7 separate regions of the Homo sapiens genome follow, and regions 2, 3, 4, 5, 6 and 7 are each linked to region 1. Evidence: promoter capture Hi-C in 16 types of primary human blood cells and fetal thymus (Javierre and others, 2016). All regions are on one chromosome and are shown on one strand. The core of a region is centred on a gene start or on the middle of the fragment in contact, and the rest is flanking DNA. Distances in the headings are between cores, read along the strand shown. Region 1 holds the start of ZNF432 (zinc finger protein 432). Region 2 overlaps ZNF260 (zinc finger protein 260). Region 3 holds the start of ZNF461 (zinc finger protein 461). Region 4 holds the start of LOC728485 (a long non-coding RNA gene). Region 5 has its middle 4.4 kb from the start of ZNF345. Region 6 overlaps ZNF585B (zinc finger protein 585B). Region 7 overlaps ZNF383 (zinc finger protein 383).

Region 1 (3,829 bases), core at 791-3,290:
AGCCTGGGCAACATGATGAAACATCATCTCCACAAAACATACAAATATCAGCTCTGTTATATATGAAATAAACAGAGTTTTCCAAAGATCTTTTATAAGATGGGAGAAAGGAGATGAAATAGAAGAGAGATTGACTTGGTCCTTCAGGATTGGAATCTGATAGATGGGACACTAGAGGAAGTTTAATGTAATCTTTTTGGCTATCTAGATCTAGTTTTTAGGCCCTGGCTAGAAGCCAGTTAGTTCCTCTTCTAGAATGGCCAATTAAGTCTACAATGCCGGCCACAGTGAGCTTGTGGTATTTAGCTTGCCCTAATCCTATCCCCATATCCTCAGCTTCAAGGTAGCCTTGAAAAGCAACCACCTTTTAACAACAGTAACAGTGAATATCTGCACCCTAGCAGAATATCTGCACTTGAGGAGGTAGAAATGGCTCTGAAAATGGCAGAAATGGCTCTGAAACACCCAAAAGCCTCCATCCCCACAGAATGTTCACTACTAAGCCTGCTTTGCAGCCTGCTGAATAGGTCTATTCTCATAGTATTTCTCTATTTGGCTTGACTTTATTTATGTGAACACTCCTACCCATAGGGCACTTGTCAAAAAACAATCAGCAGCAATTGTTTAACACTAGAGTGTTTAGGGGAGTGACAGTGTGTGTCTGCGTGATAGATGGAAGTAATAAGAGGGCACAGGGGAAAGGGGCCATACGCATAAGATGATGGAACAGAGAGCCTGGAGGGTGGGGTATAGAGAGTGTAGGGGAAGGGAGAAGGCAGACAGGTAAAAGGAAAAAGAATGTTAAGTGTTGTTCAGCCTCAAGACTGACATGATGAAAGTACCTTTATTGTGGTTTTTGTAAATTAGAATGCATGCTTTATTATTAAAAAAAACACAATTGAAAATGTTAAGGACCTTTTCCTCCTTGCTTCTTATAAGAAACCATCATAAGACATAACTTGTAATAATTCTGTAGAAATATACATATATAAAGATATATGTATATATATATTTTAAAATAGTATGTTTTTATTGCAAAATATTCATTAGTGTCATCATATCATAGCCAGATCTACAACCCCAGAGTAATTCCCATGGTTATGTTACATGGCAAAAAGGACTCTGCATTGTAATTAAGTTTATTAATCAGCTGACTTTAGCATTGGGAGATTATTCTGGATTGCCCAAGCACTTAAGAATAGGAGAAACCGGAGAGATGCAGCAGCAATAGTCAGTGGTTTCAAATATGAAAGGGATTTCACATACTATTGTTGGCTTTAAAGATAGGAAGTCGTGGGGGCAAGGAAACTCTCTAAAGGAAATTAATCTGGCAACAACCTAAATAATTCTAGAAAAGGATTCTTTTCCAGAGTCAAGAACAGAGCCAGGTGGTTCTTCTCTTCTAAAGACATTTCCATGGGCCAGTTCCACCGCAAGCTTCTCAGAGAGAATATGTTCTGCCGTACGGACACCGAACGTCCCCTAAGATGGCCGCCCCCATGATGCTCTCCCCTAAGGGCTCTGGCTCCGTTACCTGCAACGCACCGCTCGCTTATTTTTTGTTCTAGTCTCTCTTGCTTCAGTTTTTATACGGCTTCTAAAACGCTTCGCATTTACAATAGTGACTGAGGTGCCCAGAGGTGACTTTAATTTTCCATTGAGCTGAGACGTCACAGCCATCATAACCGCTAAGAAGGGATGCCGCGCCTTTGTGGTAATAATGGGTTCTGGCCTTTGAGAAGTTTGCGCCGTTCACTGTCCCCTGCGAGGAGAAGACTAACTTATTTCTGTTCCGTGTCTGTTCAGAGGACTTTACCCCCACGCCGTGTCTGCCTGTGTGAACTCAAGCCTCTGATAAGCTCTCCATTTTCTGCCAGGGCTGAGGTGTCTGGAAATCGGACAGTTTAAGAGGCCTCCGTCCACCGCGTCTCCCGGCCGCTGTGCCTTCTGTACGTCACGTACTCAAAGATGGCCGCCCCCAGAGCGGCGAGGCGACGCCGGCGCGGACGCGTCTCCTCCTGAGGAAAAGCCGGAAGGCCGCATTCCGCTCTCCATGGAAACGCGGCTGACCGTCTCTGGAGGTTTAGAGGGGGAGGGAGTTGGGCGAGGGGCCCAGAAGTGGAAGAAGTTTAGGGAAGTAAGTTCAGCTTTTAAGAGGTCGCGGCGATTCCAAGGAGAGTCAGGTCAGTGTGTGGGTCAGGGCGTGGAAACGTGGTGGGAGGGAGCTTTCTGAGGGCGTCTGCGTTGTTGGTGGCGCTATATGGTGGAGGTAGCGCGGGGGTTGGGGGAGGCGGGGGCGGGTGTTTCCTTTTGGAGGGGAGCTGGTAGGAGTCCCTGGTGGGTGTCTGTGATAGGATATCTTTGGGGTCCCTCATGGAGGCTCTGGTGGTCAGTGATTAAAGGCCTGAATAGATCAACGACCAAGAGTACTGAGGTCAGGGATTGTGGTCCTCGCGGGTCACTCCCCAGTGGGGCTCAGTGATTGAGAATCGATGGGGTGGCTTTTGTCAACGAATGTGACTTCTGTTTCACATTCTGGATTAATCTGAGGCTTAGTGATTGATGAATCATTAAGGGAATCCAGTGTACGTGTGTGTCTATTCCAGGTTTTCCTATTTTATCTGGCGGGGTGGTGGTCTTTTGTCTAGAGACAAGTGAAAGCCGAAGTCTTTTCACAAGAGCCCTGGCTGGTTTTGTGTGTGTGTGTGTGTGTGTGTGTGTGTGTGTGTGTGTGTGTGTGTGTGTGTGTTGAGCTCAAACTTTGGCTGGAACAGACTTGATGAACGTTAACATTTCCTAAAAGTTTCAGGTCCGAGTACCTCCTCCACAATGAGTTTTCTAATCCTCTGGCTTTCCACAACAACCCATGCTCTTGAACCTGCAGAAAATGAAAGTTTTTTGGGGGTGAAGGGGGGCGGATGAATAGGCTTTCTATTTAACATTATGTTTTTAAATTACTGCGCACAAATTAACAAGAGCCTATTTTTATCCTTCCTCTTGCAAATGTACTGCATATTTTTATGGGTGTTTCAGGTTTTGTATGTTAGTATATAAAGGCGGCTATTTTCCCAGTATTTATATTTTTGAATTGTTTTCTAAATTTGTATTTATAACTCGTATTCCTTTTCTCTGTCTCCCTCTTTTTTTCTATGTGTTTCTTGTTCTTCATATTGAAGTGTGTATATAAACATTTTTTTTTTTTTTTTGAGATGGAGTCTTGCTTTTGTCGCCCAGGCTTGAGTGCAATGGCTGGGCTCACTGCAAACTTCGCCTCCTGCGTTCAAGCCATTCTCCTGCCTCAGTCTCCGAGTAGCTGGGATTACAGGTGCCTGCCACCATGCCTGGCTAATTTTTTCTATTTTTAGTAGAGACAGTGTTTCACCATGTTGACAAGGCTGGTCTCGAACTCCTGACCTCAGGTGATCTGCCCATCTCGGCCTCCCAAAGTGCTGGGATTACAGGTGTAAGCCATCATGCCTGGCCGTATATAAACACTTTTAAATATATATAAAGACTTTTAAAGAGGTGTGAGAGTAACATTGTATAAAGGAAAAAATGTAGTTTCTCACCATCCATATGGCCTGATTTAAAAAACTGATATGAGAATTACCTACTGCTTAGGCATGATGCTATGTGGATTCTCCTTTGTGACCTCCCCTTTCATCTTCATGTTACTTCCACACTTCACCGAAGAAAGGCATTTGGCCTACATTGAGGGTCTTGTGTTTCCTTGGTTTGAGAGAACCAAATAAAGAGACAAATATTCAGGGCCACGTGTTAAGGTGAATGTACCCCTGAAAGTTGTTTTGCTCTTCAGTCCACAGGTCCT
Region 2 (3,829 bases), core at 427-2,926, about 16 Mb after region 1:
ACATGTATATGCCACCACACCCAGATAATCTTTTTTATTTTTAGTAGAGACAAGATCACACTGTGTTGCACAGGCCGGTCTCAAACTAGGATCCTCTTTTTATCCCTAGGTGAAATTTTGTATTGATGTGCTTTCGCCGCTATCTTTTTAAATGGAATGTTCTTTGTACTCAATGGGCCTGCTAAGTATGTGGACTCATGATTTGTAATTCTGGGAAGTGTTCTTTATTAGCTCTTTGAAAATGTCCTGTATTCATTTTTCTTCATACTTTCTTTGGAACTTCTTTAGTAGATGCTGATCCTTCCAGATTCTTCCACTAACCCACTAAATGTTCCAACCATTACACTCTTTCTTTCTGCCTTCCTCCATTCTTCCTTTTTTTATTCTAGGAGATTTTCTAGACTTTCTTTCCCCAACATACTGAATTTTTAAGATCAATTTCATATTGTTTATTTCTAAAAACACCTCTTTATAGAACACTGTTAATATTTCATTGCAGTGATAATAGTAATCTCCTAACTTTCCATGATATTAATTGTAGTATTATATGGGTGAGTTTTTCTGCTCTTTGCCTTGTATTTTGTTTGATCTGCCTTTGATGTTAGGACTTTCATCAAATGTTTTCTGATCTTTAGCTCTATATTAATTTGTGTATGTAAGCGGGGCTTATGAAATGGTGGTTTTCACTGTGCATCAATCAGTAATATAGATGTGTTTCGTTAGATGATTCCAAATGTTAGCATCTGTAGGTGTTCTCATGGTCTTCTCATTTTTTCAGAAAATAATTCTTCCGGGCCGGGTGCGGTGGCTCATGGCTGTATTCCCAGCACTTTGGGAGGCCAAGGCGGGTGGATCATGAGGTCAGGAGTTCAAGACCAGCCTGGCCAACATGGTGAAGCCCCGTCTCTAACTAAAAATACAAAAATTAGCCGAGCGTGGTGGCGGGCACCTGTAATCCCAGCTACTCGGGAGGCTGATGCCGGAGAATCCCTTCACCCGGGAGGCAGAGGTTGCAGTGAGCCGAGATCGCACTGCACTCCAGCCTGGGCAACAGAGCGAGACTCCGTCCCAAAAAAAAAAAAAGAAAGAAAGAAAAAAGAAAATAATTCTTCCATCATCTGACAGCTAGTAACCACCAGCATTCTCGGACTCTAACAGTAGAAGAGCCTCTGTTATGTGTATAAACTTTTACTCATTCTTCTCTTACTAGGATGCTCTCATTACTTTGCTGGTCATCACTAAATTTGGAGCCTCTTGGTTTTGTCTGGATGATAAACTTCACATTTCTGTCCAGCTAGGAGAGTTCAGGGCATTAGCTGGTCCTTTCACAGTCATTTTGTAAGCCCTGCCTTCCACTCTTGCCCAGTTTCTCCACTGACAGAGCATATCTGTCAATATCTGTGTTACAGACCTGTGAAGGTGGCCCCCACATCTGCTGGCTTTTCTTTAAACCACTCAGTTCTGCTGTTAATTTACAGTTCTCTATTTGCTTTCTTTCCAAAATTTCCTAATACTTTTTTTTTTTTAGAGACAAGGTCATACTCTGTCACCTAGGCTGGATTGCAATGGCATGATCATAGCATACTGCAGCCTCGAACTCCTGGGCTCAAGCGATCCTCCTACTTCAACCTCCCAAGTAACTAAGACTACAGGTGTATGCTACTGCACCTACCTAATTTTTAAAATTTTTGTAGAGATAAAGCCTTGCTGTGCTGCTTAGGCTGATCTCAAACTCCTGGCCTCAAGCAGTCCTCCTGCCTTGGCCTCCCAAAGTGCTGAGATTACAGGAAGGAGCCACTATCCCTAGTCCTCCTAATACTTTTTGTCCACTGATATCTTCTTAACCGTTTAGTTCTTATGTGTCCTTCTTCACCCTTTTACTGTCATTTTAATGGTGTTTCGGGAAGACATAGAAATAAGCACCTTATTTAAACTTTTCTGTTCATTTTATTTTTGCCCTGTCTTCCTATGCACTCCCAGTCTTTTAAGTATTTGTCCTTTCATCCTGTTTCTCACCGATTCCTTATGTTTTAAAGACCAAGTCGGCCGGGCGCAGTGGCTCACGCCTGTAATCCCAGCACTTTGGGAGGCCAAGGCGGGCAGATCACGAGGTCAGGAGATCGAGACCACCCTGGCCAACGTGGTGAAACCCCGTTTCTACTAAAAATACAAAAAATTGGCAGGGCATGGTGGTGGGCGCCTGTAGTCCCAGCTGCTCAGTAAGCTGAGGCAGGAGAATGGCGTGAACCCAGGAGGCGGAGCTTGCAGTGAGCCGAGATCATGCCACTGCGCTCCAGCCTGGGCGACAGAGCAAGACTCCGACCCAAAAAAATAAAATAAAAGACCGAGTCTTGCACTGTCACCCAGACACTGGCACGATCATAGCTTATTGCAGCCCTGAAATCCTGGGCCTAAGCAATCTGCCCACCTCAATCTCCTCAGTAGCTAGGACTACAGGCACCATGCCTGGCTAGTTTTTAAATTTTTTATAGAGACGAGAGTCTCGCTGTGTTACCAAGGCTGCTCTCAAACTCCTGGCCTCAAGCAATTTTCCTGCCTCACCCTTCCAAAGTGCTGGGATTATAGGTGTGAACCACCATACCTAGCCTTATTTTCTCTCATTTTACTGATTTATGAAGTGTGCTGGGTTACATTGAAAAGCAATTAAAATTACACATACCTGGGAATGTTATTTGTATTTGAACTTTATTTTATAATGAGACTAGGCTTGGATAAAGAATCTATTTTACAGCCGTGCGCAGTGGCTTATGCCTGTAATCCCAGCACTTTGGGAGGCTGAGGTGGGCGGATCACCCAAAGTCGGGAGTTTGAGACCATCCTGGCCCACATGGAGAAACCTTGCCTCTACTAAAAATACAAAAATTAGCCAGGCATGGTGGCGGGCTCCTGTAGTCCCAGCTACTCGGGAGGCTGAGGCAGGAGAATTGCTTGAACCTGGAAGGCAGAGGTTGCGGTGAGCCAAAATCGCGCCATTGCCCTCCAGCCTGGGCAACAAGAGCGAAATTCCATCTCAAAAAAAAAAAAGAATCTATTTTACAGTAATACATTTCTGAAATTATATTAATAATGGGAAACTTCAAAGGTGTTAGTGATATTATGTTGATGATAATGATAACCTAATTTATTGGACGCTTATTACATGCCAGGCACTATATATTATATTAACTTTTTCAATTATGATTTTTTTGTACTTCCTTTTAGAAGAAGCCTGGGAAGTTTATAAACAGATAAAGACGCAACATGAAAGACTTGTAAGTTAAGTCTCATCTTTCTCTGTGAAAAGACAGACTGAGGGAAAATTTAGGAAACAAAGTATTTCCTCTGAACAGTCATTGATTCTTCAAGACTACCCTTCTGTGTATGGAACTCAGTTTAAAAGAATTTGAAACCTAATTTATATACAATCTATACCTAAATATGGGAGAAGCTATATAAGAACCATTAAGAATATAAAGAGAATGTTACATTTTATCCCTTTTTGTAATCATCTCATCTCAGGGTAATCAATGTGAGAAAAGTCTTCCATCATAAATTTAACTTCATTAGATACCTGAGAATTAATATTGAAAATACACCATATGAATTTAGTGAATGTGGGAAAGCTTTCATCCTTATTACATCTTATTTGATACTAGGGAAATCTCCTGATTAAATTCACATGCATGATAGGCATGTTGGAAAGTCTTCAGCATGAATCAGATCTCCTTCAGCATGATCAAATTCATACTGGAGAGAAACCTTATGAATGTAATGAATGTAGAAAAACTTTTAGCCTGAAGCAAAACCTTGTAGAGCATAAGAAAATGCA
Region 3 (3,829 bases), core at 959-3,458, about 15 Mb after region 1:
CATAGTTGTTATATTCTATTTTTTAGGGCATAATGACAAGAAAAAAAGCCTGTACAAGTTCAGTACAGATGCAAACATCAACTTCTTTTCCCAGATATTTTCAACTGAAGGTTTGTTGAATCCACAATGCAAGACCCATGGATAGGGAGGGCCAGCTGTACGTCATATATTTCACTCTACTTTCTCTCTCACTGACAGTTTCAAGTGCAAACCATCTCACATACATGAATGAGAATCAGACACAAGCAGAATCACTTGTTCTCAAACAAGCACCATTTCCTCATATTACACTTGGTGATGGAGTTACTGGTCTCTCAGCAAGGTTAAAAATCCTTACCATGGATCTGTCCCTTCTGGCAGATAACATGTGCCAGCTTCCACTCCTCTAAGTCGGCTCTGGACTCTCACACACAAACATACACAGTCACCTCACACCGCTCCTATGCATACATCTAAGGTTCAGGACGCCCTGGTCCAGAGATCTGTCATTCATCCATCTCAGACCTTCCTGGTCGCAACCAGCTTCTTCCCTTCTCAGGGGCCGCCACAGTCACACTAGTCCTCTAATCATGGGTGGACCCAGCGCAAAAAGCCTCACACAGAATGTCACAAGATCCCTGTGCACGTGGCTGCGCTCCTGCAAACGTGGCAATCACACGGGTCCAGGTGGCCTCTCACATTTAAGCCACATCACGTATCACCCCCACAGGGGCCACTGCGGGAGTGGCGGCGCTCGCCGCATGAGCCCCACGCGGGCATATAGAACAGCCATTCTCAAAAAGCCTCAAAACCGTTTCACCACCCAGCGCGGTGGCTCACACCTGTCATCCAATACTTTGGCCACTGAGACGGGAGGATCGCTTGAGCCCAGGAGTTCGAGACCACCAGCCTGGGCAACATAGCGAGACCCTGTCTTTACCAAAAAAATAAAAATAAAATAAATCGTTTTGGCCTGACCCGGTGGCTCACGCCTGCTATCCCAGCACTTTGGGAGGTGGATGCGGGAGGAGCTGAGGAGGTGGAGACTGCAGTGAGCTAGGATCGCGCCACCGCAGTCAGCCTGGGCAACAGGGCATGAAGACCCTGTCTCAAAAAGAGGCCGGGCGCGGTGGCTCACGCCTGTAATCCAGCACTTTGGGAGGCCGAGGCGGGCGAATCACGAGGTCAGGAGATCGAGACCATCCTGGCTAACACGATGAAACCCCGTCTCTACTAAAAATACAAAAAATTAGCCGGGCGAGGTGGCGGGCGCCTGTAGTCCCAGCTACTCGGGAGGCTGAGGCAGGAGAATGGCGTGAACCCGGGAGGCGGAGCTTGCAGTGAGCCGAGATTGCGCCACTGCACTCCAGCCTGGGCGACAGCGAGACTCCGTCTCAAAAAAAAAAAAAGAAAAAAAAAAAGTTGAGTGAAATATATGACGTACAGTTTTTTGTTGTTGTTGTTGTTTGTTTTTTCTTGCCCGGGCAACAGGGCAAGAAGACTCTGTCTCTAAATAAATAAATAAATGGAGTCAAATATATGACATACAGTTTTGTTTGTTTGTTTGAGAAGGAGTTGCTCTGTCGCCCAGGCTGGAGTGCAATGGCGCGACCTCGGCTCACCGCAACCTCTGCCTCCCGGGTTCAAGCGATTCTCCTGCCTCAGCCTCCCGAGTAGCTGGGATTACAGGCATGCGCCATCACGCCCGGCTAATTTTGTATTTTTAGTAGAGACGGGGTTTCTCCATGTTGGTCAGGCTGGTCTCGGTGATCCGCCCGCCTTGGCGTGAGCCACCGCGCCCGGCCAAAAAAAAAATTTTTTTTTAAATCGTTTCACATACAAATCTCACGCGCTACACCCTCACCGTCAGTTCATATCCACCTTCTCCTCCGGAGTCACCTTCGGACACGCGCACAACAAAACACCTTTCTCACCACAACTCCACAAAGGGAAGCCGGGTTAGTCCGCGCCCGCCGAAAATTATCTTCAGCCACAGCCCGCGGAGGCCGCCTTGAGGGGTTCGGGGCAGCCACTGTGCCTATTCCGAAATCCGTCCTCAGCGGAACCCGAAGTCCAGAATCCGAAAACGAACATTAACAGGTTGGCGTCACTCCAGCCTCGGGTGAAACTGCGCAAGTGCATCCCGGAGCCCGGCGGAACACACCCGCTCCACCCCAGGCGCTCTCCCCTCGGACTGCATTTCCCAGAGGACACTGCTGTCCACAGCTACTTCCGGTAGGAGCCTCGCAGGAATGGTCTCCGGGTAGAGGCAGGTAAGGATGTCCCGGGCCGGTGGAGAAGGAAGAGCTGGGCGTGTGGCTTCGCTTGGAATCCGAATCAGAGCTTGGACCAGAGCCTTCCCTGAGAATGCTGAAGGTAAGAAATCCTGGCTCACCAGTGCCGCGGAAGGGAATGTCTATAGTTTTAGGCCTCTGAGTGCGGGATCAGCCCTTAGGTGGGTGTGTTTTGAATGCGTGAGGAAGTAGGGTTTCTCTTTGGGCTGTGTGTTACTGTTGGGACAGCGACCTGGTGCGTGGGTGTGCTTTAGTGACAGTGTGATTGTGTGCCTGATCATTTGTGTAAATGGGGTTTGTAGGTGACTGTGACCATGATTGTGAATGGCTATTTGTGTAAATCTCATTTATTTACGTGAAAGAAAAAGCACATTTACAGGCCGGGAGCGGTGGCTCACCCCTGTAATCCCAGCATTTTGGGAGCCCGAAGCGGGTGGATGCCCTGATGTCGGGAGTTCGATACCAGCCTGGCCAACGTGGAGAAACCCCACCTCTACTAAAAATACAAAATTAGCCGGGTATGGTGGTGCATGTCTGTAATTCCAGCTCCTTGGGAGGCTGAGGCAGGAGAATCGCTTGAACCCGGGAGGCGGAGGTTGCTGTGAGCCGAGATCGCGCCATTGCACTCCAACCTGGGCAACAAGAGTGAAACGAAACTGTCTCAAAAAAAAAAAAACAAAAAAACATTCACGTTATCCTCAGGCTCACACGATCAGGCAGAGAGCTTCCACTCCTCTCAGTCAACTCTGGTCTCTCACACACAGACACACGCACATTCACCTCACCCCGCTCCTGTGCACACATCTAAGGCTCAGGACGCCCCACTCCAGAGATCTGTCATTCATCCATCTCTCATCCTTTCCTGACTACTTGAGGAGTTAGCTGTAGATTTACACACACAACACAAGCGAAAATCACATTGCTACCCCGCATTTATCATTACAGCCTCAGAAAAACACCACATATGTAGTATGCTTATGTACCTATGTGTTTGATTTTTTTTTTCTGAGATTTGGCCACAATACACATTGTTCTGCAACTTCCTTTTTTTTTTTTTTTTTTTGAGACGAAGTTTCTCTCTTTCACCGTGGCTGGAGTGCGGTGGCGCGATCTCGGCTCACTGCAACCTCCGCCTTCGGGTTTTAAGCAGTTCTCCTGCCTCAGCCTCACGAGTAGCTGGGATTACAGGCATCCGCCACCACACCCAGCTAATTTTTGTATTTTTAGTAGAGACGGGATTTCACCATGTTGGCCAGGCTGGTCTTGAGCCCCTGACCTCGTGATCCGCCCGCATCTGCCTCCCAAAGTGTTGGGATTACAGGCGTGAGCCACCGCGCCCGGCCTCTGCAACTTCTTACTAAAAGATATTTATGTCCTTTTGTCTGTATTCAAAGACAAACTTAAGAATATTTTTCAGGATGTTTCCAGGTATGATTCTTCTTTAATTCTTACAGCACTGTACTTCAAACTAAAGACTCAAGAATTTATTTTGGTCTGCAAATTTTTGTTCTATTTATTTTTTCTCTTCCATCTGTGTTGTTTCAGCCTCTATTTTT
Region 4 (3,829 bases), core at 843-3,342, about 15 Mb after region 1:
CAGCTACTCGGGAGGCTGAAGCAGGAGGGTCCCTTGAGCCCAGGAGTTCGAGGCTGCAGTGAGCTATCATCGCGCCACTGTATTCCAGCCTGGGCGATACAGCAAAGCCCTGTCTCCAAAAATAAAACCAAAAACCAAAAAACAAAACCCCAAAAAAACTCACCACCACCAAAAAACAAAATAAGTAACCTGTATTCTTTGAAAATGTCAAGGTCGGGAACAGGTAGGATACACAGAAAACAAATAGGTGGAAGATTTAAATCGAAATATTTTAGTAGTTTCATTAAATGTACAGAGGAGAGTATGTGCCTATCATTGGGAGTCTGAGACAAGATAAAAGCACGGATCTCATAACAATAAATTACTTTGAAATCTTCTTTCTTGCTCAGTACAGGTCCCGCCGCCGCGCCGCCTGGCTCTCGTATTCCTGGTTCTCGGCGGGCTGTGGGGCTTCCGCGCCGCAGCCGTTAGTCTCGTCGGGTAGGTGACTCCTTCAGCGAGCAGGCGCAGCGACGAGAAAGGCCTGGCGGGGTTGCGCTGTCTTCCCGCCCACCGGAAGGCCCTGAGGAGAAGCCTCGGGCCCTGAGGGAGGGCTTGGGGTCGGGGGCGGCCGCTGCCGCCGCCATGTTGGGCTGGAGGTACGCACGCTCCCAACGCTCTCTGGCTGCGCTCCCAACGGTATCTGGCTGCAAATCACGGCGGGAGCGCCTCGGGCCTCTTGTCTTTTGACCCTGTCCTTGGAACCCGAGGAGACTTGCCGTTCCCGGGGGAGGGTGTGTGTGAGTCGGGCGGCGGAGGCCGTCTACGCCATTGTAGGGGCGGGGGGAGCCGAGATTAGAGCATCAGCCTGAGAGAAGTGGTGCTTCTGGTTCTCCGCTCTGCCTCGCATCTTTCAGCGAGGCCTCGTACCTCAGTTTTCCCATCCGTGAAGTGGAGCTGGGCCTGCCTGACTCATTCATTCATCAGGTGGAGGCCTTGACGCTCTAGGAGCCCTTTCAAAGGACTTTGCCTTACACGAAATAGTACCTATCGTTATTCACTCTGCAGTAACCACCCGGATTTGAGTGGCGGGTGTTTGCACAGTAATTCAGTTTCCTCTTCACCCTCCTGCCATTCGTCTTCCCCTCCAGTTTATCTCCTGAAAGAGTTTGAAATCAGCCTTGTCTATTATTGATAAACTCCTGTAGGTGTATTTGGTATTTCCCTTAAAACATGCAGACCAAAGGAAAGGCAATATTTTCCCCCCACGAAGCAGTTAACTTGGTAGAGGCCAGCCGTTGTATGGAAGAGAAAGAGAGTCTCTTCAGGACAGGCAGTTTGGATCCTGCTAAACCAGAATAAAAAATCTAGAACATGGGCCGGGCGAGGTGGCTCACGCCTGTAATCCCAGCACTTTGGGAGGCCAAGGCGGGCGGATCACGAAGTCAGGAGATCGAGACCATCTTGGCTAATACGGTGAAACCCCGTCTCTACGAAAAATACAAAAAATTAGCCGGGCGTGGTGGCGGGCGCCTGTAGTCCCAGCTACTCAGGAGGCTGAGGCAGGAGAATGGCTTGAACCCGGGAGGCGGAGTTTGCAGTGAGCCGAGATCACGCCACTGCACTCCAGCCTGGGCGACAGAGCAAGACTCCGTCTCAAAAAAAAATAAATAAATAAAAATCTAGAACATGGATGTCCCCTTGCTTTAGCAGACCTAGCTGATCACACAAGGTCCTGTATTGTTAGGCTGCATCACAGGCCGCAAAGACCCAGGTATCTATCCAGTTGTTAGAAACCATCCTGAGAGTTAGATACCACTTTTCTGTTGGAAATACAGACCATTTCCTGAAGCCGTATGGTTGAGGTAAAACAGGCCTTTTGCAGTCTTATATTTTGAGTAAGGCCAAAACTGCCTAGTGTTACAAAACCAGACAAAAAGCCCAGGTACCCAGTCTTGCAGGATAGAAATGTGTGACTAAAATGAAGCATCGATCTGAGAAGACTACAAATGAGCGGGAAAGATTGGACAGGAGCATGCTATACATTATTTAGATTAATGTTGATATTTAAGGAGCCAGGATATTGGTTTGTTTTTGAGGGGTGCCCATCTACTTTATGTAAGAAGCTATAAACTACACTTCTTTCAGTTTCTGCTTAATCCTTGCTCAAACAAGGAATAATTTCTTATTCCAAAGTAGACATTGGTACATCTTTTACTAGGTACATAATTTGGGATGAAGTCTGATAAAGCTCCTTAGAAGTACTTACAGTACACCCTCACAAGGGTGTACCATCTACCCATGGTTTAAACAGAAATTAAAATTCTACCTTCGTGGAAAAATTTGCCAAGTTTTAATGGATTCAGTGCTCATTAAAAACTTTTAGCCTGTCTTGATCTTTAACATAATTATTGGTGTGAAACAATGGCTTCTGTGGAAAATTAAAGTTTTAGTGGTTTGCTATTTGTGAAATACAGGCTTTTTCATGTATCATATTAGCATATAAGCTGGCTTAATCATTAGTACTGATCTTCAAGTTACTAAGACACCAGATATTTGTTACTTTGTAATTTGAGTTTTTAAAAAAATTCCGAAATTGGCTTTTCGATGTGTGAAAAGGACTACTTATTAGATGCTTGTTTTTAAATTTACATTCAATTAATTAAAGCTAGACTCTTTATATTCTTAGGCTTGGTATACTATTTGTATGTTTTGTAGTAAGTGTATAAAAATAATACCTTTGACTTTGTATAAAAAAAATCTTTCTTGCTTTAAAAGCCATGTTGGATTTGCATTCTAGACCGTAATAAATATAACTACTTTAACATAAAAATCTATTTATGTTGTTTATCAGATATTAGGGGTTTTTTTCCCTCTCCTGTCAACCTCCAAATAAAATCGATGCTCCAGAATGATGCCCTCTTATCATAATTTTACAAATACCTGGCTCCAAGGTTACTACCTGATACAAAAATACAATGCTGGTCTCCCAAACAGGCAACTCACATTGACACTCACACAGCTTCCACTCACACCTGCGATCACAAGGCAGCATCTTCGGGCCCTCGTCGGCCACGATCCGCTCCCAGAGAGCATTCGCGCACAATCTTATCCCATCCACGATTTTGATTCCTTTTCTCCCACTTCTTCAACCCTATCCGGGACGAGACCATCAGGTCCCACCTCCACCTTCACCTTCATTTTCCGCGCAATGCAGACTGAGCCCTGGACTCACCCATATACAGATTGAATTGTCCGGTCAGTGTTTCATCCCCTCTGCATTCTGAGGGCGAGTTAGCATCTGGGTGCATGAGTTCCAAACTAACAGCCAGGACCAGGCTTGGAGCCAAGAATCCTTTGGCTCGCATCGTGGCTGGGTTGACCGCTTTTCTGCCCTGGACTACATTTCCCATCGGTTCTACCGTTCGGGGCTACTTCCGCCGAGAACCGGAAGCACGTTTTCCTGTGTCTTACCCCAGATAACAGAGCTGCCAGGGATAATCAGGCCTGACCACTCTAGCGGGCGAGCCGGCCCCATAGCGAGCCGCTCGGCATGAGGGCTCTGCGATCCTCGTTGGAGAGGAGCGGTAAAAGGAAACAAGCCAGGCTTGGAAATGAGAGGCATAGGGAAGCCCGCAGTCGGGCTCTGGACTACATTTCCCAGAGGATCCCGCAGGCCGACGCCACGTCTCGCGAGATTTTGGCTTCCTCTTAGCCAGGTGGCGGGACCGTTTGCTGTGCCGATTTAGCTGCCGCCGCGCCTTGGAGTCCTGAGGAACTTGGCTAGGCTGGCCCCGAGCGGAACCAGAGAATGCTGAGGGTGAGGAATCCGGCTCCGGTCCTTTTGTGT
Region 5 (3,829 bases), core at 875-3,374, about 15 Mb after region 1:
AGTCCGGGAAATAAGCTGTTTGAACTCAGCCCTTTGTGTTTCTATGAAGGCTTCATTATGTAGGCATGATTAATTAAATCAGCAGCGATTGGTGATGAGTTCAACCTTCAGCCCTTTTCCTTTTCCCAGAAGTCATGGGGTAGGGCAGAACTTTCCAACATTCTAATCACATGTTTGGTTGCCCTATCCTGTGGTTATGTAGGGGCTTTACTAACTTCACCTCATTAACTCACTTGTGGTTGAAAGGGGTTGGTTAATGAACAGTAAAGACATCTTTCACATTTATTACTCTGGTGCTATTTCAGGAACTGAAGTGTCTTAGTCCCTTAGTACTTCTACAGCAAAATACCTGAGAAGCAAAATACCTGAAAAGTAATTTGTAAATAATAGAAAATTATTTCCCACAGTTCTGGAGGCTGGGAAGTTCAAGATTGAGATGCCAGCAGGATAGGTGTCTGGTAGGTCTGCTCTCTGATTCCAAGATGGGACCTTGCTGCTGCATCCTCCACAGGGCAGGAATGCTGTGTCCCCACATGTCAGAAGGTACTGAAGGGCTGGACCCATTCCCTCAATCCTTTTTTTGAAAGCACTAATTCCATCTATGTAGGCTCTTCCCTCATAATTTAATCACCTCCTAAGGGCTCCACTTCTTTTTTTTTTTTTTGAGACAGAGTCTCTCTTTGTCGCCCAGGCTGGAGTGTAATGACGTGATCTTGGCTCACTGCAACCTCCATCTCCCCAGTTCAAGTGATTCTCCTGTCTCAGTCTCCCAAGTAGCTGGGATTACAGGCACATGCCACCAATCCCGGCTAATTTTTGTATTTTTAGTAGAGACGGGGTTTCACCATGTTGTCCAGGCTTGTCTCGAACTCCTGACCTCAGGTGATCCACCCGCCTCGGCCTCCCAAAGTGCTGGGATTACAGGCGTGAAGGGCTCCACTTCTTAATCTAACACATTGGCGATTAAGTTTCACTATATAAATTTTGGGGAACACATTCAGAACATAACCAAGGACAAAAGAACAAGTGTTTTTGTTTTGTTTTTTGTTTTGTTTTTTTTCCCAAGACAAAGTCTTACTGTATTGCCCAGGCTGGAGTGCAGTGGCGCAATCTCGGCTCACTGCAACCACTGCCTCCCGGGTTCAAGCAATTCTGCCTCAGCCTCCCGAGTAGCTGGGATTACAGATGTGCGCCACCACACCCGGCTAATTTTTGTATTTTTAGTAAAGACAGGGTTTCACCATGTTGGCCAGGCTGGTCTTGAACTCCTAACCTCATGATCTGCCTGCCTTGGCCTCTCAAAGTGCTGGGATTACAGGTGTGAGCCACCGCACTTGGCTAAGAACAAGTGTTTTAACAGAAAATACTCTGTTTAGGAAACTACAAGGGTTTTAGGACCCATGAACCAAGAACCATGGGCATGGATAAAGACCAAAATACATATTTCTTATTACATCACAATATCAGAGAGGTATAGACTCAGGATTGGTTGGTTTGCATATGTAAGCTGTGCTCATTGGAAAACTGTGATTATCTTTAGGAATTAGCCCTGAGAGGAGCAGCCTCTCCCTGTTTTTGGTAAGGTCCCCAAATGCCAGAGCATCAAGAATACAGAAAATAAGAAAATATAGTTAATATAATTGGCCTCTTGATGAACGAGTGCCAAATAGACTAATAGAGAATCTAAGGAAATGCAGTTAGAACACAGAGGCTATGTAAGTATTTACCTTCCACAAATGGTGAACTAATTTTTATTCCAACCAGAAATGTATGAAAGTTCCTATTTCCTGTTCCTGTCAACCATTGTATTTCTTCATTCAGCAGATATTCATTGAGCTCTTTTTTTTTTTGAGACGGAGTCTCGCTCTGTCGCCCAGGCTGGAGTGCAGTGGCACTGTCTCGGCTCACTGCAACCTCCGCTTCCCGGGTTCAAGAATTCTTCTGCCTCAGCCTCCCGAGTAGCTGGGACTGCAGGCGCCTGCCACCATGCCCGGCTAATTTTTGTATTTTTAGTAGAGACAGGGTTTCACTGTGTTAGCCAGGATGGTCTCGATCTCCTGACCTCGTGATCTTGTGATCTGCCCGCATCGTCCTCCCAAAGTGCTGGGACTACAGGCGTGAGCCACTGCGCCTGGCCTCATTGAGCTCCTTATCTGTGCCAGGTGCTATTCTAGGCACTAGGAAAATATCAGTGAACAGAACAGCCAAGATTTCCTGTCCTCACAGAGTATACCATTCTAGTTGGGGAAGTGGACAATGAATGTGTAAATGAAATATATCATATTCCAGATAAAGATAAGATTGGGGCCAGGTGTGGTGGCTCATGCCTGTAATCCAAGCACTTTGGGAGGCCAAGATGGGCGTATCACCTGAGGTCAGGAGTTCGAGATCATCCTGGCCAACATGGTGAAACGCCGTCTCTGATAAAAATACAAAAATTAGCCAAGTGTGGTGGTGCATTCCTGTAATCCCAGCTACTGGGTAGGCTGAGGCAGGAGAATCGCTTGAACCCGGGAGGCAGAGGTTGCAGTGAGCCGAGATCATGCCATTGCACTCCAGCCTGGGCAACAAGAGTGAAACTCCGTCTCCCACCACCCCCCTCAAAAAAAAAAAAAGAATCTAGGTTCTTTATAAATCTTTGTGCTGTCATATTGCACTGTCATTTTCTGCAAAGCCAAAGGTGGATCCATTTTTTCTGTCAATTTGTTGTACATGTTTTTAAAAATCTTTTAGTGATTACCTGAAAGATTACAGCATTCCTCTTTCTTTTAGTCTAGGACAAATTATTGACTTTACCATTTCCCCAATACTGCTAGAGGACCTTGGGACACTTTAACTCCATTTACCTCCATCCTCATTTTTGCTTTATTTTTGTTATTTAATTCTGCATACATTCAAAACCCCAGAGGGCAGTATATTACTTTGTGCAGTCAATATTCATTTATATTCACATACTTACTCTTTCTATTGCTATTCTTTCCCTACTAATTTTTTTTTTTTTTGGAAACAGGGACTCTGTCACCCAGGTTGAGTGCAGTGGCATGATCATGGCTCACTGCAGCCTCGACCTCCCAGGCTCAAGTGATCCTCCTACCTCAGCCTCCTGAGTAGCTGGAACCGCAGGTGTGCGCCACCACGCCCAGCTAATTTTTGATTTTTTGTAGAGGCAAAGTCTTGCTATATTGCTCAGGCTGGTCTTGAACTCCTAGATGCAAATGAACCTCCACCTTGGCCTCCCAGATTGCTGGGATTACTAGTATTAGCCACTGTGCCTGGCCTAAATTTCTTTCTGTTTCATCTGAGATCTTGTTCTTCTCGAAAAACTCCATTTAGTATTTCTTTTTTTTTTTTTTTTTTTTTTTTTTTGAGACGGAGTCTCGCTCTGTCGCCCAGGCTGGAGTGCAGTGGCGGGATCTCAGCTCACTGCAAGCTCCGCCTCCCGGGTTCACGCCATTCTCCTGCCTCAGCCTCCCAAGTAGCTGGGACTACAGGCGCCCGCCACTACGCCCGGCTAATTTTTTGTATTTTTAGTAGAGACGGGGTTTCACCGTTTTAGCCGGGATGGTCTCGATCTCCTGACCTCGTGATCCGCCCGCCTCGGCCTCCCAAAGTGCTGGGATTACAGGCGTGAGCCACCGCGCCCGGCCCTAGTATTTCTTTTAGTGGTGTTCTGATGGCAATGGATTCTCATGGTCTGTCTGAAATGTCTTTTTATCCTTTCTTTTTTGAAGGAGATTTTTACTGACTATAGAATTCTAGGTTATATATATTTTTTTTCTCAGAGTTTTGGTGAACTTCTTGAATCTATGGTTGCTGTGTTTAATCGGTT
Region 6 (3,829 bases), core at 685-3,184, about 15 Mb after region 1:
ATGTTTAGTGCTCCTGGAATTTGTCTACTTAATAGTGTGAGGTGGGTTGGGCGCGGTGGCTCACGCCTGTAATCCCAGCACTTTGGGAGGCCGAGGCAGGCGGATCACAAGGTCAGGAGATCAAGATCATCCCAGCCAACATGGTGAAACCCTGACTCTACTAAAAATACAAAAATTAGCTGGGCGTGGTGTCGCATGCCTGTAGTCCCAGCTACTTGGGAGGCTGAGGCAGTAGAATCACTTGAACTCTGGAGGTGGAGGTTGCAGTGAGATGAGGTTGTGTCACTGCACTCCAGCCTGGCCACAGAGCGAGACCCCATCTTAAAAGAAAAAAATATTGTGTGAGGTGGAGATCTAGTTTGTTTTATTCCAGATGCATGGCCAATTGCATGCACCAATTGGGGATATGTATACAATGAATGCCGTGTGCACACTCAATCGCATATCATTTTTATTTCATATATAGATCAACATTGTCTGATATGTTTATTATCTTACTTGTTTTGATGACATGGTTTTCTGTATTACGTTTTAATATAGTGCATGGTAATTGCTGATATTTATTGCGTGATTCTTGCATGGCAGGGAGGCATTGAGTACTTTAAAAGCATAATCTCATTTAATCTTAGTAACTGTGACACAGGCATTTTCATCCTTATTTCTGAAACAAAATCTGAGTAACTTCTTTATATTCTCATTGTTGAAAAGTGGTACAGCTGCAGTTCAAATCTGCAGTAATGTTACTCTAAATTTCATGGCTTTTCCCATATTTCAGCACTGTTCTCCACAGTTCTGAAAGTGTGGTTCTTGTACCAGCAGCATCAGCATTTCCTGGGCACTTATTAGAAAATAAAATTCTTAGGGCCTACCTTAGACCCATCGAAGGGGTGAAGTTGAGAATTTTAAACTATGTTTTAACAAGCCCTCCAGGTGACTTGAATGCATACCTACGTTTGGGAACCACTGCTCTGGTTTCTAGCGCAGGGACCTGCACCTTGGTGTATCCAGGAAGTGTTTATGTAGTGAATGTTGAATGACTACGTGGACATTGTTTTTCTAGGTTCTTGGGTGTCTCTGGGGAGTCCCTGGGCCAGACCTTCCTCCAGACTCCAGCCCACCTCTTCGGAGCAGCTCTGCTGAGTTCACAGATGACCACTAAACTTCAGGCACCCTAGACAAAAAGGGTTGAGATCCAGTGTGGCCATGCCAGCTAGTTGGACCTCACCCCAGAAATCCTCAGCCCTGGCTCCAGAGGATCATGGCAGCTCCTATGAGGTGAGGAGGAGGAGTCCCAAGGGGTGGAATTTCAGTCCAAGAGTAGATAGCTCTAATCTGTCACCACAGCCTTAGGGCAGAGGCAGACAGGCCTTAGGAACCAGCTGGACTCTAGACTTGGTGCTCCTGAAAGAAAACTTGATCTTCCTGTCAAGAATGAACACGTGGGTAATGTCTCCGTCTCTGGAGGCCACCTGTGTGACAGTGGAGAGGTGCACTGTCAAGGAAAACTGTTGTTGATTTTGTCATCACGCTATATTGATGTTTTGGCTGCAAATAGAATTCCTTGTTAGAAGTGACTTTTGTTTGAGATTTTGAAAGCATTTTTTCATTTCTTCCTAAACCACCTCCTCAAACACAAATGTTTTCTCTGTTTTCTTTCTGAAACTTGTTTTTCAGATGTTGCTTCTCCATTTCTTTTCTCTACTATTTTCTATGTATTTCCTGCTATCCATTCTGGGTAACTTTGACACCTTTTGCCTTCCAGCCCTTCTATTGAGCTTCTCATTACCACTATCCACATTTTAACTTAATGTTTTAATTTTTAAAAACTCTAGTTTGTTTCCTAAAATTTTTTTTTTTTTTTTTGAAACAGAGTTTTGCTCTCATTGCCCAGGCTGGAGTACAATGGCATGATCTCGGCTCACTGCAACCTCCGCCTCCTGGGTTCAAGAGATTCTCCTGCCTCAGCCTCTCAAATAGCTGGGACTACAGGCATGTGCCACCTCGTTCGGCTAATTTTGTATTTTTAGTAGAGACGGGGTTTCTCCGTGTTGATCAGGCTGATCTCGAACTCCTGATCTCAGGTGATCTGCCCACCTCAGCCTCCCAAAGTGCTGGGATTACAGGCATGAGCCACTGTTCCCAGCCTGTTTCCTAAATTTTTTTTTATTGCCATCCCGTTCTTATTTCATGGATGTAATGTTATTTTTTAAATTATTTATTTATTTATTTATTTATTGATGGAGTTTTGCTCTTGTTGCCTAGGCTGGAGTGCAATGGCATGATCTCCGCTCACTGCAACCTCTGCCATCCAGGTTCAAGCAATTCTCCTGCCCCAGCCTCCTGAGTAGCTGAGATTACAGGTGCGAGCCACCACGCCTGGCTAATTTTTGTATTTTTAGTAGAGATGGTGTTTCACCATCTGGGCCACGCTGGTCTCGAACTCCTGACCCTCAGGTGATCCACCTGCTTCGGCCTCCCAAAGTGCTGGGATTACAGGTGTGAGACACCATGCCCGGCCTGGGTGTATTGTTATTTCTTATCCATCTGAAGATATTGTGATAATTTATTAGGAATAGTTTAATCTTTTGAATAGGCAATGCATATACCTAGTTCAAAAGTTAGAAATATATGAAAAGCAATATATTGAAAAGTATTATGGTGAAAGAGATGGGACTGTGGTTCACCCACCTCTGCCTTCCATCTACCTGTGTCTCCCGGTAGTGATAACCTGCTTTATTCATTTTCTTTGATTGCTTAGTTCTGTATACAAATGAAAACAACTACAATTTTTTTCTCTTGATTTCAGAATGGCATAGCAGATTAACTTTTTTGTACATTGCTGTTTTAATGTTTGTTTGGTAAAATACAGAAACTATTATGAACAATATCGCAGTGGATATTGTCATGCCTTCTCTTTCTATTGGATATATTAGAAGTAGTGGAATTTCATTTCAGGGTTCTAGTCACGTGGTGAGAGTCTCATCTGCACCTCAGTGAACCTCTACTTTAGTTGCTCTTGGGCAGTTTTAGGATTGAGTATCTTAATAATTTTATTCTAGAAGATAGGAAGGATAGCTTGAGGCTAAAGTTACAGTTGGTAAAGCAGCAGCAGTTGGCTGGGCACGGTCGTTCACACCTGTAATCCCAACACTGGAAAGCCAGGGTGGGAGGATGGCTTGAGGCCAGAAGTTCAAGACCAGCCCTGGCAATGTAGTGATTCCCTGTCACTACCAAAAAAAAAATTTAATTAAATTAAAAATTAGTTTGGGCCTGGTGCGGTAGCTCACACTTATAATCCCAGCACTTTGGGAGGCTGAGGCAGGCAGATTGCCTGAGGTCAGGAGTTCGAGACCAGCCTAGCCAACATGGTGACGCCCCGTCTCTACTAAAAATAAAAAATATTTGTCAGGCATGGTGGCGTACGCCTGTAATCCCAGCTACTCAGGAGGCTGAGGCAGGAGAATCGCTTGAACCTAGGAGGCAGAGGTTGCAGGGAGCTGAGATTGCACCACTGCACTCCAGTCTGGGTGACAGAGTGAGCCTCTGTCTCAAAAAAAAAAAAAAGAAAAACAATTAGTCTGGCATGGTGCTGTGTGCCTATAGACCCACCTGCTCGGGAGGCTGAGGCAGGAGGATCACTTGAGCCTAAGAGTTCGAGATTACACCTAGCTATGAGCATGCCACTGCACTCCAGCCTGGATGAAAGAGATAGACTTTGTCTCAAAAGAAAAAAGCAGCAGTCTCTTGCATTAGGCAGAATAAGGAGACTTTTATTCACTTTTGTGGTTTGAAGAATGTTCTGATTTTTGTCTATGCTCAAATATAACGA
Region 7 (3,829 bases), core at 936-3,435, about 15 Mb after region 1:
AATTACCTGGGCTTGGTGGCACATGCCTGTATTCCCAGCTACTCGGGAGGCTGAGGCAGGAGATCACTTGAACCTGGGAGGCAGAGGTTGCAGTGAGCCAAGATCGCACCATTGCACTTCAGCCTGGGCAACAAGATCAAAACTCATCTCAAAAAAAAAATTATTAAGATGGCCAGGCGTAGTGGCTCATGCCTGTAATCCCACCACTTTGGGAGGCCAAGGCAGGTGATCACGAGGTCAAGAGTTCAAGACCAGCCTCACCAATATGGTGAAACCCCGTCTCTACTAAAAACACAAAAATTAGCCAGGCATGGTGGCACCCACCTGTAATCCCAGCTACTCAGGAGGCTGAGGCAAGAGAATCGCTTGAACCCGGAAAGCAGAGGCTGCAGTGAGCTGAGATCATGCCACTGCACTCCAGCTTGGGCAACAGAGTGAGACTCCGTCTAAAAAAAAAAAAACAAAGATTAAGATGGTAAATTTTACATTGTCTTTTATACCACAATTAAAATGAAAACAAAATCATTGAAAAAAAAAAAAAAGCTAGCTGGGCATGGTGGCACATTGTCTGTAGTCCCAGCTACCCGGGAGGCTGTGATGGGACAATCACCTGAGCCTGGAAGGTCGAGTTTGCAGTGAGCTGTGACTGCACCACTGCACTCCAGCCTGGGTGACAGAGTGAGAGGCCCGTCTCTCAAAAAAAGAAAAAAACAAAAAACCAGAAAAATCTACATGTTCAATGAAGTATAAAAAGGGACCCAGTATAATGATCAGTGGCTCAGATTCCAATGAGCTTATTTTGTGGAACCAAGTCCCAGGTACCAAACACTAATTAATTAATTGAGCCCTCAGCCTTTAAGTTAAGTCTGTGGTTGGTTTAATTTTCCTCTTATCAGATATTGGCAATTTTTGTGTTACTTCATATTTTAAGTTTTGTTAGAGATTTATTAATTTTATTAATTCCCAAAAATAAGCTTTTGCCTTTGTTAGTTTTCTTCACTGTACATTCATTTTGTATTTCAATATATGTTCGTTATGTACAGCAAAACACGTACACCTTAAATATATGCAATACCAAATAAACTAAAAATTTTATATTTGGGCTTTTATTCTTATTATTTCCTAGATTTTAATTTTGGGGGTTTAACTTTCTAGACTTTTCCTTAGCTTCTTGAGATGAATACATAGATCATTAATTTTTCAACATTAATTTTTTTCTTTTTTTTTTCTGAGATGGAGCCTCACTCTGCCGCCCAGGCTGGAGTGCAGTGGCGCGATCTTGGCTCACTGCAACCTCTGCCTCCCAGGTTCAAGCAACTCTCTGCCTCAGCCTCCTGAGTAGCTGAGATTACAGGTGCCCGCCACCATACCTGGCTACTTTTTTTTGTATTTTTAGTAGAGATGGGGTTTCACCATCTTGGCCAGGCTAGTCTTGAACTCCTGACCTCGTGATCCACCAGCCTGGGCCTCCCAAAGTGCTGGGATTACAGGTGTGAGCCACTGCGCCCGGCCAACATTCATTTTTTTCTAACATATGCATTTACAGCTATATATTTTCCTCATATTCAGCTTTAGAAACATAATTTTGGTATGTTATTTTTCATTATCACTCAGTTTAAAATATTTTAAATATCTATCACAATTTATTCTTTGAGTCACCAGTTATTTATAAATACATTGCTTAAATCCCAAACATTGGGATATTTCTTTAATTTTTGTTTTTTTAAATTTAGAAATGGGGTCTTGCTATATTGCCCAGGGTGGCCTAAAACTTCTGGGTTCAAGCAATCCTCCTGCCTCGGTTTCCTAAAGTGCTGGGATTACAGGCATGAGTCACCACACCTGGCTGGGATATTTCCAATTATCTTCTTGTTATTGACTTCTAGCTTAACCTACTGTGGTCAGGAAAGTTACAGTATTATTTCATTCCTTTGAAATTTATTGAGACTCCCTTTGTGGCCCAGCATATGATCAATTTGGATAAATGTCTCATATGCATTTGAAAAGCAAGTATATTATGTAGTTGTAAGGTACACTGTTCTATACATATCAATCAGGTCAAGCTTGTCAATCACACTGTTCAAATACCATATAGCTTTATTGGGTTTGTCACTTGTTCTGTCAGCTATTGAGAAGAGTGCTAAAAACTCCCCACTAAGATTGTGATTTATCTACTACTTCTTTTAGTTATGTCAAATATATTTGAAGCCATTTTATGAAGGCATATAAATTCAGAACTGTTATATCTTACTGGTGAATTGATCTTTTTATTATAAACTATTCCTCTTTATCTCTAGTAAAGCTTCTTGTTGTAAAATCTATTCTTGTCATAAAGTCTACACTGCAGTTTGGAATATAGATTGATACCACTATTTCAGAAAACTGTCAGTATCTATTAGAGCTGAACATATACAGAAACCATGACCCAGCAATTTCACTCCTAGAAATACACCCAAGACAAATGCATTCATATGTGCACCAAAAGACATGTAAAAGAATGTTCCCGGCAGCGTTTTTCATAACAGCCTCAATATGAAATCAAATGCCAATCAGTAATGGAATGGATAAGTAAAATGTGTTATATTCGGCCGGGCACGGTGGCTCACACCTGTAATCCCACCACTTTGGGAGGCCGAGGCGGGCGGATCACCTGAGGTCAGGAGTTTGAGACCAGCCTGGCTAACATGGTGAAACCCCGTTTGTATTAAAAATACAAAAAATTAGCTGGGTGTGGTGGCGTGCGCCTGTAATCTCAGCTACTTGAGAGGCTGAGGCAGGAGAATCGCTTGAACCCAGGAGGTGGAGGTTGTGGTGAGCAGAGATGGTGCCATTGTACTCCACCTTGGGCAACAAGAGCGAAACTGTCTCAAAAACAAAAAAAAGTGTTATATTCATACAACAGAATTTTAAACAGCAATAATAATGTGTTCACTATATTCATTATATCACCTATAACTAACGTGCAGCAACATGGATGAATTTTATATATTTATACTACATATTATTACAGAATACATTCATATTACATACGAAATACAATATTGAGCAAAAGAAGCCAAGCATCATCTCCAAGTGAAACTGACAGTAGGAAAAAAAAAGTGAAAAAAAAAGAAGCCAAGCAAAATTCAAGTATAGGTAAAATTAGTCTATGGCTATAGAAGACAAACTATTAGTTCTCTTTAGGAGAAGTGGGTAGTGAGTGAACTGGACAAGACTTGGGCTTCTGTAATGCCAGTTATGTTTTATTTCCTTATCAGATTTGAGATCTGGTCAAAGGAATATGCTTTTTCTTTTTTTTTTTTTTTTTTGAGACAGAGTCTCGCTCTGTCGGCCAGGCTGGAGTGCGGTGGCACAATCTTGGCTCATTGCAAGCTCCACCTCCCGGGTTCACACAATTCTCCCGCCTCAGCTTCCCAAGTAGCTGGGACTATAGGCGGCCGCCACCATGCCCGGCTAATTTTTTGTATTTTTTTTTTTTTTTTAAGTAGAGACGGGGTTTCACCGTAGCCAGATGGTCTTGATCTCCTGACCTCATGATCTGCCTGCCTTGGCCTCCCAAAGTGCTGGGATTACAGGCACGAGCCACCGCGCCCAGCCCGGAATATGCTCACTTTTATACAAGTCATCAGGTCATATACCTTGATTTTGTACTTTTCAGAATGTATGGTATATATATATATTTGAGACAGGGTCTTGCCCTGTTGCCCAGGATGGAAGGCAGTGGTGCAATCGCAGCTCACTGCAGCCTCAACCTCCCTAGGTTCAAACAATCCTCCCACCTTATCCCCTGAATACCTGGGACAATAGCAGCATGTAACCATGCCTGGTT

The links. Contacts are between HindIII fragments. The CHiCAGO score rates a contact against its expected background, and 5 or more counts as called.
Region 2: a fragment that was not itself captured here is called in contact with the fragment with the promoter of ZNF432 in region 1 in 2 of 17 cell types (non-activated CD4 T cells and activated CD4 T cells); the score reaches 5.7 in non-activated CD4 T cells.
Region 3: the fragment with the promoter of ZNF461 here is called in contact with the fragment with the promoter of ZNF432 in region 1 in 4 of 17 cell types (non-activated CD4 T cells, naive CD8 T cells, total CD4 T cells and 1 more); the score reaches 11.3 in non-activated CD4 T cells.
Region 4: a contact is called between a fragment that was not itself captured here and the fragment with the promoter of ZNF432 in region 1, in 1 of 17 cell types (naive CD8 T cells). The highest score is 7.5, in naive CD8 T cells.
Region 5: a contact is called between a fragment that was not itself captured here and the fragment with the promoter of ZNF432 in region 1, in 2 of 17 cell types (non-activated CD4 T cells and activated CD4 T cells). The highest score is 5.2, in non-activated CD4 T cells.
Region 6: a contact is called between a fragment that was not itself captured here and the fragment with the promoter of ZNF432 in region 1, in 2 of 17 cell types (total CD4 T cells and non-activated CD4 T cells). The highest score is 8.3, in total CD4 T cells.
Region 7: a contact is called between a fragment that was not itself captured here and the fragment with the promoter of ZNF432 in region 1, in 3 of 17 cell types (total B cells, non-activated CD4 T cells and total CD4 T cells). The highest score is 7.2, in total B cells.

Annotation. Positions count from the first base shown.
Region 1 is chr19:52,047,049-52,050,877 of GRCh38, reverse strand. It overlaps ZNF432 (zinc finger protein 432), which reads left to right and starts at 2,040. Exons shown (of 5, transcript NM_014650.4): 1 at 2,040-2,183; 2 at 3,818-3,829. RefSeq lists an enhancer at 1,668-2,257. The HindIII fragment of the contact is 4,326 bases long and covers 1,440-3,829 here.
Region 2 is chr19:36,515,093-36,518,921 of GRCh38, reverse strand. It overlaps ZNF260 (zinc finger protein 260), which reads left to right. Exons shown (of 3, transcript NM_001166037.2): 3 at 3,223-3,829. The coding sequence starts at 3,684. Among named protein-coding and RNA genes, the nearest start is that of ZNF260, 11 kb to the left of the region's middle. The HindIII fragment of the contact is 3,899 bases long and covers 1-3,625 here.
Region 3 is chr19:36,665,216-36,669,044 of GRCh38, reverse strand. ZNF461 (zinc finger protein 461) reads left to right here and starts at 2,208. Exons shown (of 6, transcript NM_153257.5): 1 at 2,208-2,355. It also overlaps a transcript of ZNF567 not described here. RefSeq lists an enhancer at 1,902-2,031. The HindIII fragment of the contact is 6,595 bases long and covers 1-3,829 here.
Region 4 is chr19:36,772,695-36,776,523 of GRCh38, reverse strand. LOC728485 (a long non-coding RNA gene) reads right to left here and starts at 3,371. Exons shown (of 2, transcript NR_164117.1): 1 at 3,015-3,371; 2 at 1-1,138. ZNF850 (zinc finger protein 850) reads left to right here and starts at 3,717. Exons shown (of 5, transcript NM_001193552.2): 1 at 3,717-3,799. RefSeq lists enhancers at 3,457-3,616, 3,757-3,829. The HindIII fragment of the contact is 5,631 bases long and covers 1-3,829 here.
Region 5 is chr19:36,844,585-36,848,413 of GRCh38, reverse strand. It overlaps a transcript of ZNF790 not described here. Among named protein-coding and RNA genes, the nearest start is that of ZNF345, 4.4 kb to the left of the region's middle. The HindIII fragment of the contact is 5,910 bases long and covers 1-3,829 here.
Region 6 is chr19:37,204,486-37,208,314 of GRCh38, reverse strand. It overlaps ZNF585B (zinc finger protein 585B), which reads left to right. Exons shown (of 5, transcript NM_152279.4): 2 at 1,061-1,275. The coding sequence starts at 1,204. Among named protein-coding and RNA genes, the nearest start is that of ZNF585B, 4.1 kb to the left of the region's middle. The HindIII fragment of the contact is 4,710 bases long and covers 1-3,829 here.
Region 7 is chr19:37,221,435-37,225,263 of GRCh38, reverse strand. ZNF383 (zinc finger protein 383) reads right to left here. Exons shown (of 6, transcript NM_001387601.1): 2 at 325-446. Among named protein-coding and RNA genes, the nearest start is that of ZNF383, 5.1 kb to the right of the region's middle. The HindIII fragment of the contact is 239 bases long and covers 2,066-2,304 here.